Linked DNA regions of Homo sapiens: all the other regions are linked to region 1. The links are contacts of gene promoters, found by promoter capture Hi-C in blood cells and fetal thymus (Javierre and others, 2016). All regions are on one chromosome and are shown on one strand. Each heading gives the region's core, a stretch centred on a gene start or on the middle of the fragment in contact. The rest is flanking DNA. Distances are from core to core; before and after follow the strand shown.

Region 1 (4,923 bases), core at 1,492-3,991:
CAGATGATCTAGGTCAGAAGTCCTAAACTACCATTTCATAGGTCAAACCTGACTTGCAGTTATAGTTCTCTTTTTGTTTTGTTTTCCTACATAATTGAAATAGAGATTTTACATAAAATCCCAGTTTCCGACATCACTTGCAAAACATAAGATTGGTCACCTTGCGCTTGAATTCCCACAGAGCATCAGTCAGTCAGAATTGAATTGAGTAGTAGTAGCTCCTTTTTTTTTTTTTTTTTTTTTTTCTCCCCTTTGAGACAGGGTCTGTTGCCCAGGCTGGAGTGTAGTGGGGTGATCATGGCTCATTGCAGCCTCTACCTCCTGGACTCAAGTGATCCTCCCACATCAGCCTCCTGAGAGCTGGGACTACAGGTGTCAGCCATCCCACTTGGCCTAGTAGTAGCTCATTTTAGATGGATCCTGTGCTCCCTCTCATTGCCACAGTCTCCATTTATTAGCTTCATTCATTTATGTTATTTAACTGACCCCATAAGCATTTGTGTTTTGTGACCACCATCTTAGGTTCTAAACATTACCTCTACCAAACTGTAAAAAGTAGGAATTCTACACCTGTTTCCCACACCCAAGATCCATCTCCCCTCCTGTGATAATTGCCTTTCACTCATGGGCAGTGTATATTGGGTAAACCAGCCACCTTGGCCAAGAATGATTTGACACAAGCCAAGCAGGGTCATTCACGTGCTTTCTCTTAGGAACTTTAAACTTGGACTTAGAAGAGCTATGTAATCTCTGCATGCAGCTACAACCCTGTCAATTTGGAAAGTGTAGGGTAGCCATATTCAGCCATTTTGACTGCACAAGCAGAGAGATCTTATTTGGAGAAAAAGAAGAGAAAAGCAGAGGTGACAACCAAGTTGTCAAGATCTATAAGATCCTCCAATATCCTTATAATAAACCCTCTTATCTGCATACATTGTTTTCAAATGGTTTGTTTCTTACAGACACTTGTCTTAGCCTTGAAACCTGCTGACTTCCCAACTCTGTGGTTCAATTTCCAAACCTCTTAAAGTTAAAAAACAAAACCTGCTATTTTTTTCAGCTCGTCACACAGGATGTTGGTACTCAAAATAAGTCTATTATATATTATTTGTAAACTGTAAACTACCATACAAATCTAAGGTATTATTCTCATGACAGCTCTGGCAAATGTTCACTAAATGGAGACACAATAGATGAAGAAAAGTGGGAAAATATTTGTGGCTAGAGCAGAGCAAGGTACCCAAGACGCTTGCAGCTTTTAAGTCAAACTATTGTACTGGCAGTAAATAAGCACTTTCTGGTGGCTGTCAGGGTGGTCCCAACCTAACTAGACATTCCTCTTCTTCAGGACTGAGAATACAGTGGCCTTTCCCAAGCACGAATATGGAAGGATTATATTTTGCTCAACTATACTTTTGAGCAACGCCAACTTCCTTAAGCAATTTCCCCGAAGCACTAGGACATGAATCAGTCAAAATACTGCAAGTCAACTCTGCAATTTTCTCTCTGCTCAGCAATGTAGTCAAAAACTGGTAAATCAGGGTGAACCATTGTGTCAGGAAGAATTTGATTAGAATGAAACTCCTCCCTACATTTCTTAAATCCATACAAGTCATAAAACTCAGATTTAGTTTATTCCTGAATATGAGAATATGTCTGAAAAACAGAGCTCAGATAACAGGCAATAGAACATAACCTTGTTTGCTGTGATTCTTGTAAAGAAAAACAATTGCAGGCCTGTTCATCACTCATGAAAAATACATCGTATAGTACTGGAACAGTGATTAACTTGCACTTATATTATTGACCTGAATAAATTATTTCTTCATTAGCAGATTATAATTTTGTGTATGTGTCACTTCAAGGCCCTAAAAATAAGAACTAGCTTCCCACCTAGTAGCAGTAGAGAAGCAGTACCAAAAAAAAACCAAACCCCCCACAAAACTAACATTACCTTTCAGGAAGGAACTACATGTTTGTAAAAGCAGGAAAGGAAAAGATTTTTAAGTAATATCTGCTGCTACCTTACAAATCTGTCCAAGTGAATTTTGAATAATTACTGGATTAAATAATAAACTGCCAACCTAAAGCAGAGCAGGATTTGCAATGGTATAATCGACCACAGAGGGATACTCAAATCAGCTAATCTCTTAGTGGCTGTCTCTTTCCGGAGTGAAGAGAAAGATACACTGAGTCTCTAAATGTGTCCAGCTGAAAAGAAAAGTTAACAGTCTGAGATTAACTTAATTTAAAATCGTGGAAAAATTTGATGAGAGGCAGTCTATATTAATTCTTTCAAAACAATGGAGCAAGGAGAAGGCTTTTCTACACTAAACGGTATCGATTATAGGAAGAGTAAACCAAGAAAAATAATGTGCACATCTTTTTTAAGCTGGAAAATGCCTATTTGGTAAAATGATCACTTCCGTTTTTGAGCACCCCTTTGCTGAGGCAGCGAATGGCGGCGTCGGCGGGGTTGTCAGAGAGCAGACGTCGGAGCACTGAGCAGTCTAGATTCTGCGGCATGTCCCCCCCGGAAGAAGCGGGAGAGGCGGCGGCAAGAGCAGAAGCAGGACCCCAAGCAGAGAACTAGGATAGCGAGGCCGGGGGCTGGACCGCAGCCCGGCGGCCAGGAAGGGCGGCGGGGCGGCGGGGACGCTCGGGCACTCAGTCAACCTCACGGGGCGGGGCGGCCGCGGGTCGCGGGCGGATGACGCGCCGGGGCCGGCGGAGGAGCAGCCACTTCCTGGGGCCGCCGGCCGGGGCCGCTGGCTGCACTCAGCGCCGGAGCCGGGAGCTAGCGGCCGCCGCCATGTCCCACCAGACCGGCATCCAAGGTAACAGCGCCCGGCGCGACTCGCAGGGAAGGGGCTTCCGGGAGAGCCGGGAGAGCCGGGAGGGCTGCAGGACCGGCAGGGCTGGAGTCGGGCCGGGAGCTCCGGAAGTCGGTCTCGCGGGGCGAGCCGGGCCTCGGCGCCTCTCCGCGCTCCTGCTTCCCGGGCGCTGCCGGCCTGCGTCCTCCTCCAGCCCGGTCCCTGCTGCCGTCACGTTGCAGATTGATCCGAAATTCGGGGGAGCGAAGGAAATTGGCTTTCGAGGCGGCCTGGTTGAAGGGGGCGTGCCTTCCACCGTCCCCGACAGTCGCCCAACTTTCCCCCTTTTGGTCACGTAGGGAAGAGCTGGGACAGTGGAGGCGACTGGGGCTTCAGTACGCTGTCGAGAACCAGGCGAGTTTTCTTTTTCATGGTCCAAAGGAGAATATTACAGGACTTTGATTACAAAAAGAACCATGCCAGAATCTTTCTCACATCAGTAGGGGTGCTTCCCAAAACTCTCCCGCATTTTCTCTCCAAATAGGAAAATGAGAGTTATGTTCTGAGAAATCTCGAGTGTAAGCGTGTGTTTTGATCTTTTTCCTAGATACTCCCCAAGGGAAACTGATCTGTATGGTTGCATGTAATGCGTGCAGACAGTTCAATATGCAGTTATATCTGACCTCCATTATTTCCTGGTTTGAAATTGGGCAGCCTGCAGGTACTCACCTCATCAAGAGTCAAATAATATATCCCCGGGTTACTCGCGATCACTTAACGAGTTCTAGTGTAAACTCAAGCTCTTACTGTTAATAGCGAGTCTTTCTCCCAGATGAACACTTAATTGTATGTTTTATTCGTAAAGATTTTTGACACCACCGCACACATCCCCCTGCACGCACGCAGAAGCAAAATAGTCTCAAATCTGAAAACTTTGTTTTATTTATCCGCATTAATTTCGATATATAAATATGTAGTTATTGACTCTCATGCTTGAGCCTTATAGCAAGCACTACCTACTTACATAGTGGTTCTTGCTGCTAATAGACAACACAGGAACGAAATTAGAACGAAATTGAAGCTTTAATAGGAACACAAGGGTTAGTTATTAAATACATATTTATTCAATGAGTTTAATCTAGCTTTTGAGAAATGCAAGTTAGAAAAATATAACCAGAGTTAAGACTGAATGCATTTTATTGTCTTTTTCTTTAAACAAGTTAGGATATTTGATATATACTGTTGTTTTTAACGGGAAAATACAGAAAGTGAATTGATGAAGGAGTGTCTGTCATAAGCTTGAAACTGAATTAGAGAATGAAAGCAGGTTTTCAATATTTTTCAAAAGAGCAAGAAAAGTTTTTCAAAATTGTAATTTGCTCATTATTGGGTTTGAGTAACTTCAGTATATTCACCCCAGTGTTATTTCTGCACAGAATTATGTAGCTAAAACAGATTAGAATTATTAACATACTTTTAAAATGCTAATATTTATATTTCTTAATTGTATACAGTCTTCGTTATTTTATGCGGTAAAGTTTTATAATACTGATAATAAGGATGCTACATGCTCCAGATTTTTTCTTTGTATTCTAATTAACTTTTCCAATATAGATAGGAAAGTATTTATATGTAAGTATAAAAAGTTTACTTTCTTTATCTTTTTCCACAGCAAGTGAAGATGTTAAAGAGATCTTTGCCAGAGCCAGAAATGGAAAGTACAGACTTCTGAAAATATCTATTGAAAATGGTTAGTTAAATATTTTAAAATATTTTCTGTTCCTGGATTAGTGGCTGTTGTATTTTTAAACTTACTGTGTGTTGTCAGTGATTTGAACTATTAATTAATATGAAGCAAGTTCAAATCTTACGGTAACTTGGATTCCTCATATTTTGTGCAGGTCCCTATGGGCCCCTAATTTCATTCTGAATTATGTGACTATCAGGGAAACAGAAAGATGTTTTTTGATGTGACTTCTTCCTCTTTTACTTTTTGTGTCTCAGTTTCTGCACCACAGTCCATTTCTAATGTCAGTGCTTCCATCTCTGGAATGGAAATCACTAAACAGGTGATTATCAAAAAAAAAAAATAGTTACTTGTGAATTATTC
Region 2 (4,923 bases), core at 656-3,155, 150 kb before region 1:
GGAGGCTGAGGCAGGAGAATGGCGTGAACCCGGGAGGCGGAGCTTGCAGTGAGCCGAGATCCCGCCACTGCACTCCAGCCAGGGCGACAGAGTGAGACTCTGTCTCAAAAACAAACAAACAAACTAACAAAAAAAGAAACCATGCATTTTACACTTTAGGAAAGTCTCCATTTCAGATATTCTCTCCTGCCACCTCCTTTGGTGCAGTCGTCCTGGTCAGATCACACTTACTGAGGGTACTCACCACACCCAGCCAGATGAGTTCTCCACGTGACTTCTTACTAAAGCTTATCAAAAAGGAAACAGAACAGAGAGACAGAGTCTATTCCATTCTCATTACAGTCACCACCTAACTTTCACCTTCACGTTGTTCAGGTCCTGAATACGTAACATTTATTTTCAAATAAATAGTAACATTTATTTTCAAAATTGCCTGTATCACTTTGTCTTATTTCTCAATTTCTCTCTCTGAAATACTTAACACATAGTGATGTATTAATATTGGTAATTGATTCTCTGGAAAAGGCTTTGTATCAAGAAAAATGGAACTTTTCCTTTTGATTAACACTAAAAAAATCAGCTTCTTCATATTCTGCCCCAAATAGTATGCGCTCTTTGGAAACATTCCAGTTCACAGAAGGATTTTTACCAGTGAGTCAAATGTCTAATTCCCTCAGTGCTAGACACAGTATTTATCATTATAATATGAAAATAAGTCTATAAACATATAGATGCATATGCAAGCATATAAGTATCTATGCATACTGTTACTTAAACCTGTTTTGGAACATAAAGTAAAAGGGGCCAAGCACATCACAAAATAACAAGTGCTTATTAAAGAGTTCACTATGTATTTCCTCAAAAAGCCCATTAACAACACAGCAGGAGAATATTTCAACACCAAGTTTCAGAAATTCAGAAGGGGGAAGATACCCTTCTTTTCCTGTGATTCATTAATGAGACAATCAGTGCTGAAAACATGCCTTTTGCTGCCATCAAGTGGCTCTTTTCAGAATATTCTGATCAACGTCATGGTGTGCTAGCACTGCTTCCCCCACCACTTCCTTCCTTGTACATTATACATTATCATCCTTTGGGGAACAGGAATATTTGAAAAGACCAAGCAAGCCTTTCCTAAATTAGGGCTTTATACTATGGATGCTATAAAAATTACATTACTAAGAAATTATTCAGAAAGACAACTTCAAAAAGTGTTTGAAGTACCCAAAACTGAAAAATCCTTCCCAGCCCTGGGTGACCTTTTCAGTTTCTAGTCAGTAAAGATTTTGACCTGAACTTGGGAGCATGCCTCTCTTTATTAATACCAAATAAATAATTTCTAAATAGACTGGTTCAGGGTACATAGTTGAAAAGAGAGGAAATTAGAAAATGTATTTGGAATAATTTTTAATCAAGTCAAATCCCATTACTATGGAAGAAAATAGTTTTCTATTGATGTCTCATTTTCTCAAGCCTTCATTCCTATATATAAATAATGCAGCATATTGTATAGTCACTGCAAAAGTTCAACTGTGATTACTATAGAATTCTCATTTTAATATAGTTGGTTGCCTAGCTCCTTTTTCTTTGAATATCTTGCCTTTTTTATAGCTTTTTCTTTTTTTAAGTTCTGGGGTACATGTGCAGGATGAGTAGGTTTGTTTCATAGGTAAATGTATGCCATGGTGGTTTGCTGCACCTATCAACCCATCAGCTAGGTATTAAGCCCAGCGTGCATCAGCTCTTTTCTCTAATGCTCTCCCACTCCCACTCTTCCCCAACAGGCCCCAGTGTCTGTTGTTCCCCTCCCTGTGTCCATGTGTTCTCATTGTTCAACTCCCACTTATAAGTGAGAATATGCAATGTTTGGTTTTCTGTTCCTGCATTAGTTTGCTGAGGATGATGGCTTCCATCTTCATCCATGTCCCTACAAAGGACATGATCTCGTTCTTTTTTATGTCTGCATACTATTCCATGGTGTGTATGTACCACATTTTCTTTATCCATTCTATCACTGATGGGTATTTGGGTTGATTCCATGTCTTTGCTATGGTAAATAGTGCTGCAATGAACATAGGTGTGCATGTGCCTTTATAATAGAATGATTTATAAATCCTTTGGGTATATACCCAGTAATGGGATTGCTGGGTCGAATGGTATTTCTGGTTCTAAATCTTTGAGGAATCACCACACTGTCTTCCACAATGGTTGAACTAATTTACATTACCAACAGTGTAAAAGTGTTTCTATTTCTCTACAACCTCACCAGCATCTGTTGTTTCCTGACTTTTTAATAACTGCCATTCTGACTGGCATGAGATGGTATCTCATTGTGGTTTTGATTTGCGTTTCTCTAATGATCAGTAACATTGAGCTCTTTTTCATGTGTTTGTTGGTTGCATGTACGTCTTTTTTTTTTTTTTTTTTTTTGAGAAGTGTCTGTTTATATCCTTTGCCCACTTTTTAACAGGGTTGTGTTTTTACCTTGTAAATTTGCTTAAGTTCCTTATAGATTCTGGATATTAGACCTTAGTCAGATGGATAGATTGCAAAGATTTTCTCCCATTCCATAAGTTGTCTGTTCACTCTGATGATAGTTTCATTCACTGTGCAGAAGCTCTTTAGTTTAATTAGACGCCATTTGTCAATTTTTGCTTTTGTTGCAATTGCTTTCGGCAATTTCATCATAAAGTCTTTGCCCATGCCTATGTCCTGAATGGTATTGCCTAGATTGTCTTCTAGGGTTTTTATAGTTTTGGGTTTTACATTTAAGGCTTTAATCCATCTTGAGATAATTTTTGTATAAGGTGTAAGGAAGAGATCCAGTTTCAATTTTCTGCATATAGCTACCAAGTTCTCCCAGCACCATTTATTAAATAGGAAATCCTTTCCCCATTGCTTGTTTTTGTCATGTTTGTTGAAGATCAGATGGTTGTAGATGTGCGAGTTTATTTCTGAGTTCTCTATTCTGTTCCAATGGTCTACGTGCCTATTTTCGTACCAGTACCATGCTGTTTTGATTACTGTGGTGTTGTAGTAAGTTTAAAGGCATCATAGCATGATACCTCCAGCTTTGTTCTTCTTGCTTACAACTGTCACTTTAGCTATGCGAGCTCTTTTTTGGTTCCATATGAATTTTAAAATAGATTTTTCTAATTCTGTGAAGAATGTCAACGGTAGTTTAATGGGAATAGCATTAAATCTATAAATTGCTTTGGGCAGTATGGCCATTTTCATGACATTGATTCTTCCTATCCATGACCGTGGAATGTTTTTCCATCTGCCTGTGTCCTTTCTGATTTCCTTGACCGGTCTGTAGTTTTCCTTAAAGAGGTCCTTCACTTCCCTTGTTAGCTGTATTCCAAGATATTTTATTCATTTGTGGCAATTGTGAATGCGAGTTCATTCATGATTTGGGTTTCTGCTTGTCTGCAGTAGATGTATGGGAATGCTTGTGATTTCTGCAAATTAACTTTGTATCCTGATACTTCACTAAAGTTGTTTATCAGCTTAAGAAGCTTTTGAGCTGAGATGATAGGGTTTCTACATATAGGATAATGTCATCTGCAAACAAAGACAAATTGACTTCCGCTCTTCTTACCTGAATACCCTTTCTTTCTTTCTCTTGCTTGATTGCCCTGGCCAGAACTTCCAACACCATGTTGAATAGGAGTAGTGAGACAGGGCATCCTTGTTTTGTGCCAGTTTTCAAGTGCAATGCCTCCAGTTTTTGCCCATTCGGTATGTTATTGATATGTTATTGACTGTTTTTTGTCATAAATGGCTCCTATTATTTTGAGGCATGTTCCTTCAACACCTAGTTTATTGAGTTTTTAACATGAAGCGGTGTTGAATTTTATCAAAAGCCTTTTCTGTGTCTATTGAGATAATTATGTGGTTTTTGTCTTTAGTTCTGCTTATGTGGTGAATTGCATTATTGATTTACGTATGTTGAACCAGCCTTGCATCCTGGGGACGAAGCCAACTTGATCGTGGTGGATAAGCTTTTTGATGTGCTGCTGGATTCAGTCTGCTGCCAATATTTTATTGTGAATTTTTGCATGAATGTTCATCAGGGATATTGGCCTGAAGTTTTCTTTTTTTGTTGTATCTCTGCCAGGTTTTTGTATCAGGATGATGCTGGCCTCATAAAGTGAGTTATGGAGGATTCCCTCCTTTTCAATTGTTTGGAATAGTTTCAGAAGAAATGGTACCAGCTCCTCTTTGTACCTCTGGTAGAATTCTGGACCTGGGCTTTTTTTGGTTGGTAGGCTATTTATTACTCCCTCAATTTCAGAACTTATTATTGCTCTATTCAGGGATTCAACTTCTTCTGGGTTCAGTCTTAGGAGGGTTTATGGGTCCAGGAATTTATCCATTTCTTCTAGATTTTCCAGTTTATGTGCATAGAGTTGCTTATAGTATTCTCTGAGGGTTGTCTGTATTTCTGTGGGGTCAGTGGTGGTATCCGCCTTATCATTTCTGATTGTGTTTATTTGAGTCTTCTCTTCTTCTTTATTAGTCTCACTAGCAATCTACTTTATTGATTTTTTTTCAAAAAACCAGCTCCTGGATTCATTGATTTTTTGAAGGGTTTTTCATATCTCTATCTCCTTCAGTTCCACTCTGAGCTTGTTTATTTCCTGTCTTCTGCTAACTATGAGATTTGTTTCCTCTTGGTTCTCTAGTTCTTTTAGTTGTGATGTTAGGGTGTCAATTTGAGATCTTTCTAGCTTTTTCATGTGGGCATTTAGTGCTATACATTTCTCTTAATACTGCTTTAGCTGCATCCCAGAAATTCTGATACATTGTTTCTTTGCTCTTTTTGGTTTCAAACAACTTCTTGATTTCTGCCTTAATTTCATTATTTACCCAGAAGTCATTCAGGAACAGGTTGTTCAATTTCCATGTAGTTGTGTGGTT
Region 3 (4,923 bases), core at 668-3,167, 130 kb before region 1:
TAAATTATGTGCCACTTTTCCTACAGGTCTATAGGTCCCAGAATTCAGAATTTTATGACTTTCTTTTAGAGGAGTTTCAGGAGACAACCAAGTGACAACAATCCTTACAGGCCAACAGAAGTGAAAACATCACTAAGAGGGATACATTTCTGACATGGCCAAAAACATGACTATTTTAATCACAGATATATGAATATTTGTAAATCTGAGTGTGTATTTATGTTATTAATAAGATCCATCTTGGAGTATATAGACTGTTACCTTCAATACAGTCAAAGAAATTAGAAAATACAGCTTAGAACAATCAAAAGCATTAAAGTGGGACACAAACCTGTATATGTGAAGGAGAGGGTGGGAGGGCACAGGGATTGATGATTATGAATGTTGGCTAAAGTCAGGTGAAATGGCCTAGAACTTCAGAATTTTTTCTGGAAATACAGTAGGTTTAGGATCACTAAGATGTCATAAAATTCTAACAAGATTAATGATATAAAAGCATATTTAAAAGTATATATTATGGGCCAGGTGCAGTGGCTCATGCCTGTAATCCCAGCACTTTGGGAGGCCGAGGCAGGCGGATCACCTGAGGTCAGGAGTTCGAGACCAGCCTGGCTAACATGGTGAAACCCGGTTTCTACTAAAAATACAAAAATATTAGCCAGGCGTGGTGGTGCACGCCTGTAATCCTAGCTACTTGGGAGGCTGAGGCAGGAGAATCACTTGAACCCGGGAGTTGGAGGTTGCAGTGAGCCAAGATCACACCATTGCACTCCAGCTTGCACAACAAGAGCAAAACTCCATCTCAAAAAAAAAAAGTGTATATAAAATGAGCAAACATATGTTGTGGAAAATAGAGGTAGACAACTGTGACAGGGAGAATTATGGAGAAACTACTTGGTTTCTTGGCCTTTTTGCTGCTGTGTTCTCTTCACCAAAAGAATGGAAAGAAGAATTTCCTTTCTACCTCACTGCTAGACTTTTTAAATTGAGAGTTCTAGGTCCCTTTTCTTTAGGAGTGATTTTCACATGGAGCCTGTGCAAAGAAATACACTAAAGAGTCTCAGAGGAGAAGGAGAAGTGTTTGTGTTTCTAGGTAGGAGATGTGGGGAGCCCTACCTCTGGAAGGTTGTTAAAGCAGGGATCAGATAGACCGAGGGCTTCTGGGTTCATAAAGAATACAAGCATTTAGGTCTCCAAGGTGGCAGAGCCTCATTTGGGGATGACTACATGAATGTTGGTCAAGGCCAAGGTATCAAGGGTCATGTTGATACCCAAATCTCACCTTGAATTGTAATAATTCCCAAGTGTTGTAGGAGGGTCCTGGTGAGAGGTAACTGAATCATGGAGGCGAATCTTTCCTGTGCTGTTCTTGTGGTAGTGAATAAGTCTCATGAGAGCTGACGGTTTTATTAATGGGAGTTCCTCTACACAAGCTCTCTCTTGCCTGCTGCCATGCAAGATGTGATTTTGCTCCTCCTTTGCCTTCTGCCATGATTGTGAGGCCTTCCCAGCCATGTGGAATTAAGAGTCGATTAAATCTCTTTCCTTTATAAATTACCCAGTCTTAGGTATATCTTTATTAGCAGAATGAGAACAGACTAATACACATGGCTTTGGAAGTCTGAGTTATCAAACTAAGCTAGTCCCAGGGGAATGGTGCCAGTTAGGGCAGCCACCCACCTCTATTAGGTGCACAATGACCTGAGTAGATCCCAGGCACCTTAGTCTGAGTCATTGTGCCAAAGTGGTAGAAGACCATTACTGAAGTGGCAGTAGGAGAAGGGATGCAGAAGTAAAAACAAGCTAAAGGAGTCTTTTCAGTAACTGTAGCCCTGGAACTCCTATAAAACCTTAGTGATAGAAAAGGTGATGTGAAATATTATTAATATTGTACTCTCTGCTTACCTTGGTAAGCAAAAACTCAGAGTAAGATTTAATTTAGAGGAAAAAGTATGGCATTACACATAAGACCCTGACTAGGAAATATAAAAGGACAAATGAAGGGATTCATTCCTCAAGAGGACTCCAAACTGAAATTAACACTACTGTCCATTAAGTCTTCTGCTCTAAAACCTATATATGATTTGGCCAACCTATATATGATTTGGCCCACCCATATATACAAGAAACAAATAGAATCTGCAGCTACTTAAAGGAGTATATTTGGTTTGTTGGAGTCAAAAGATATAATAGTCAAAAAATCAGCATAGCAGGCATTCCACATACCAGTAATATTCCTGTTGCAAATAACAAAAGCGAAAACAAAAACTAAATTTAAACTAGATTAAATTATAAGGATTCTTTATTGGCTTCCTTCTCACATTTTCTTTTCTTTTTTTATTTTTTATTTTTTTTTTTATTTTGAGACGGAGTCTCACTCTGTCACCCTGACTGGAGTGCAATGGAGCAATCTCGGCTCACTGCAACCTCCACCGCCTGGGCTCAAGTGATTCTCCCGCCTCAGCCTCCCGAGTAGCTGGGATTACAGGCACACGCCACCGTGCCTGGCTAATTTTTGTATTTTTTAGTAGAAATGGGGTTTCACCATGCTGGCCAGGCTGGTCTGGAACTCCTGACCTCAGCTATCCATCCACCTTGGCCTTCCAAAGTGCTGGGATTACAGGCATGAGCCACCATGCCCGGCCCTTCTCACATTTTCCATCTTTTTTTCTCATGTCTGTTCTCTAAACAAAATTTTTGTAGAACTAGTTTAACTAAAGGCATAGAATGACTTCAAGCAAAGCCTGATCCAGCACTCAGATAATATTATCAAGACTTGATTAATCTCTATTTCCCAGCTCCATTTCCTCAGTGTGGCGTCTTATCCTAGCAGGCTCCCACTACTTTCTCCCCCAAGACACATGCACACACCCTTTGTTGTCCCAAGATGACCATAACAACCTGAGGGCTGCTTCTTCATTGTTGTCCATGGATGAAAAGATAACGCTTTTGCCCTAGCACTTCTAGAGAAAATTATGAGATTCATTCTATTCGGGCTCATTTGGGTCCTGAAGCAATTACCCTAGCCAGAGTTATGAAGAGCAATTTAACTAAGCCTTAGGATTAGCTAATATATATATTAAATATAATAAATATATAATATAATATATAATATATAATAATATATAATATAGCCTTGTTGCCCCCAGCCAGACCACTAGGTGGCCCATTACCTCAAACCATCACAACTAGATATGCTGTCCTGCATACCCCAGCCCTCACATGCTCTACCCAGCCCAGCCTGCACACCCTCCCCCTGATGTCAGTTCCTGCACATTGCCTAATAAAAAATCCCTACGGGCTCTTTTCAGGGAGCCAGACAGAGAATTCTTTTACCTCCACTGTCTCCCTTGAGCTTGAGCACAAGCCGCAAAATAAAGCCTTGTCTGGCTAATCTACTTGGCCTTATGTAAATTTCTATTACACGGGAGCCTAAAAGCCTGTGGTCTATAACACTGAGACCCAAAGATATGTATACTTTTTGTCTACTATATGTGTGCTACACCTGTCTATAAACTGTAGCACAGTAGAGACCAGATTGATCTTCTTTACCACTATGTCCTCATGGCATAGTACCTGGCACACAGTATGTCTTAAGTTATTTGTCCAGTGGATTTTAAAAAAAAAGGCTATACAAATAAATGAACAAATAATATTCCACTGTATGGAATCCTATCTTTCTACATCTAGGTCCTATTATAGTTGCCCTCTGAGCCGTTCAGTTCTTTAAGCTGCTCTCCTCCCCAACTTTCTCCCCATCTATAAGCCACCTCCTAAATTCTGTTCCCTCCTATTTGGCGAGAAGCTCCTGCTTCCTTATCAGCCTTTTCATCAACACCACATACATTTCTGTATACCCTATATTTGTCTTACACATCCCCAGCAAACACCCAACTCTGATGTACAGCTACAGTTCGTTTTCTCCAATTTTGACTACTGTGGAAAAAAGTTGCACAACACAGTTGAGAAGCCACTACACAATCATGATCCAGAGTTTAGTTGCTATCACAGCACTGCACATTAATGCATCAATGCCTTTCCCTATCCTTGTCAATTCTCTTTCCTGTTCTCCTTAATATCTATTTCAAATTTCATCTCAAAGCTCCCACTAAGCCCTTTTCACTCTTAGAATATGACTTTGGTCTCAACCTCAAGAAGACATCCTTGTCATCAAACATTATTTTCCCTCAACTTCCTACCTGCTCACATTCATCTACTTATCTACCTTCATGACTATCCTAACTTCCTTCCCTTATTCCTCAAAGGATGGAGCACTCCTCCCAAAGAAGACCCTACCTGTGCCTTTTTAAAACCACACCCCCTCCTCTCTTGGGGGACTTGGTCCAGCCATCCTTTCACTCCTTTGTATATCTGATCTCTCCCTCTCTCCTCATTCTTTTTTCTCCACCTCTGAGGCCTCTTAAGTTGATCCTAAAAACAATGTCCTTGAACTTCCACCCATTCTCCTTGTTTTCTCATCTAGACTTCAAGAAAGAGTAATCTTTATCACACCCACTTACCGAGATCTTACTTGCCATGCAAACATTCCACTGAAGTTGTTCTGGCAAATGCATTGACCTCCACCACTCCCAAATCCGGAATAAATATATTGGTCTTTAACTGGCAAGACATCCTGGCTGCATCTGACCTAACAGTTGTTCTCCGTCTCTTTTGATACTACTTCCTTGGGTTCCCTAACACCAAATATGCCATTCTTTTTCTATTTTCCTGATTTTTCTCAGTCACCATTTTGGGCATCCCTTCTTCCAATTACCCCATAAATAATGATGTGCCATGGTCTGTCCTCAGTCCTTGTCTTCATCATATCACTATATGATCTCATCCTCTCCCATGGTTTCAACATCCCATATCTCCAGTAGAAATTTTTCCTCCTGAGCTTCACACTGGAAGTCAGCTGCCCAC

Evidence for each region. The method cuts DNA at HindIII sites, captures the fragments that hold promoters and counts their contacts. A CHiCAGO score of 5 or more calls a contact.
Region 2: a fragment that was not itself captured here is called in contact with the fragment with the promoter of TWF1 in region 1 in 1 of 17 cell types (M2 macrophages); the score reaches 5.3 in M2 macrophages.
Region 3: a contact is called between a fragment that was not itself captured here and the fragment with the promoter of TWF1 in region 1, in 1 of 17 cell types (M2 macrophages). The highest score is 5.0, in M2 macrophages.

Annotation. Positions count from the first base shown.
Region 1 is chr12:43,804,135-43,809,057 of GRCh38, reverse strand. It overlaps TWF1 (twinfilin actin binding protein 1), which reads left to right and starts at 2,741. Exons shown (of 9, transcript NM_002822.5): 1 at 2,741-2,837; 2 at 4,486-4,563. The coding sequence starts at 2,813. It also overlaps a transcript of TMEM117 not described here. RefSeq lists a silencer at 2,566-3,045. The HindIII fragment of the contact is 5,668 bases long and covers 1-3,896 here.
Region 2 is chr12:43,954,008-43,958,930 of GRCh38, reverse strand. The region is part of intron 3 of TMEM117 (transmembrane protein 117); the gene reads right to left. Among named protein-coding and RNA genes, the nearest start is that of TMEM117, 120 kb to the right of the region's middle. The HindIII fragment of the contact is 3,231 bases long and covers 290-3,520 here.
Region 3 is chr12:43,936,440-43,941,362 of GRCh38, reverse strand. The region is part of intron 2 of TMEM117 (transmembrane protein 117); the gene reads right to left. Among named protein-coding and RNA genes, the nearest start is that of TMEM117, 100 kb to the right of the region's middle. The HindIII fragment of the contact is 8,309 bases long and covers 1-4,923 here.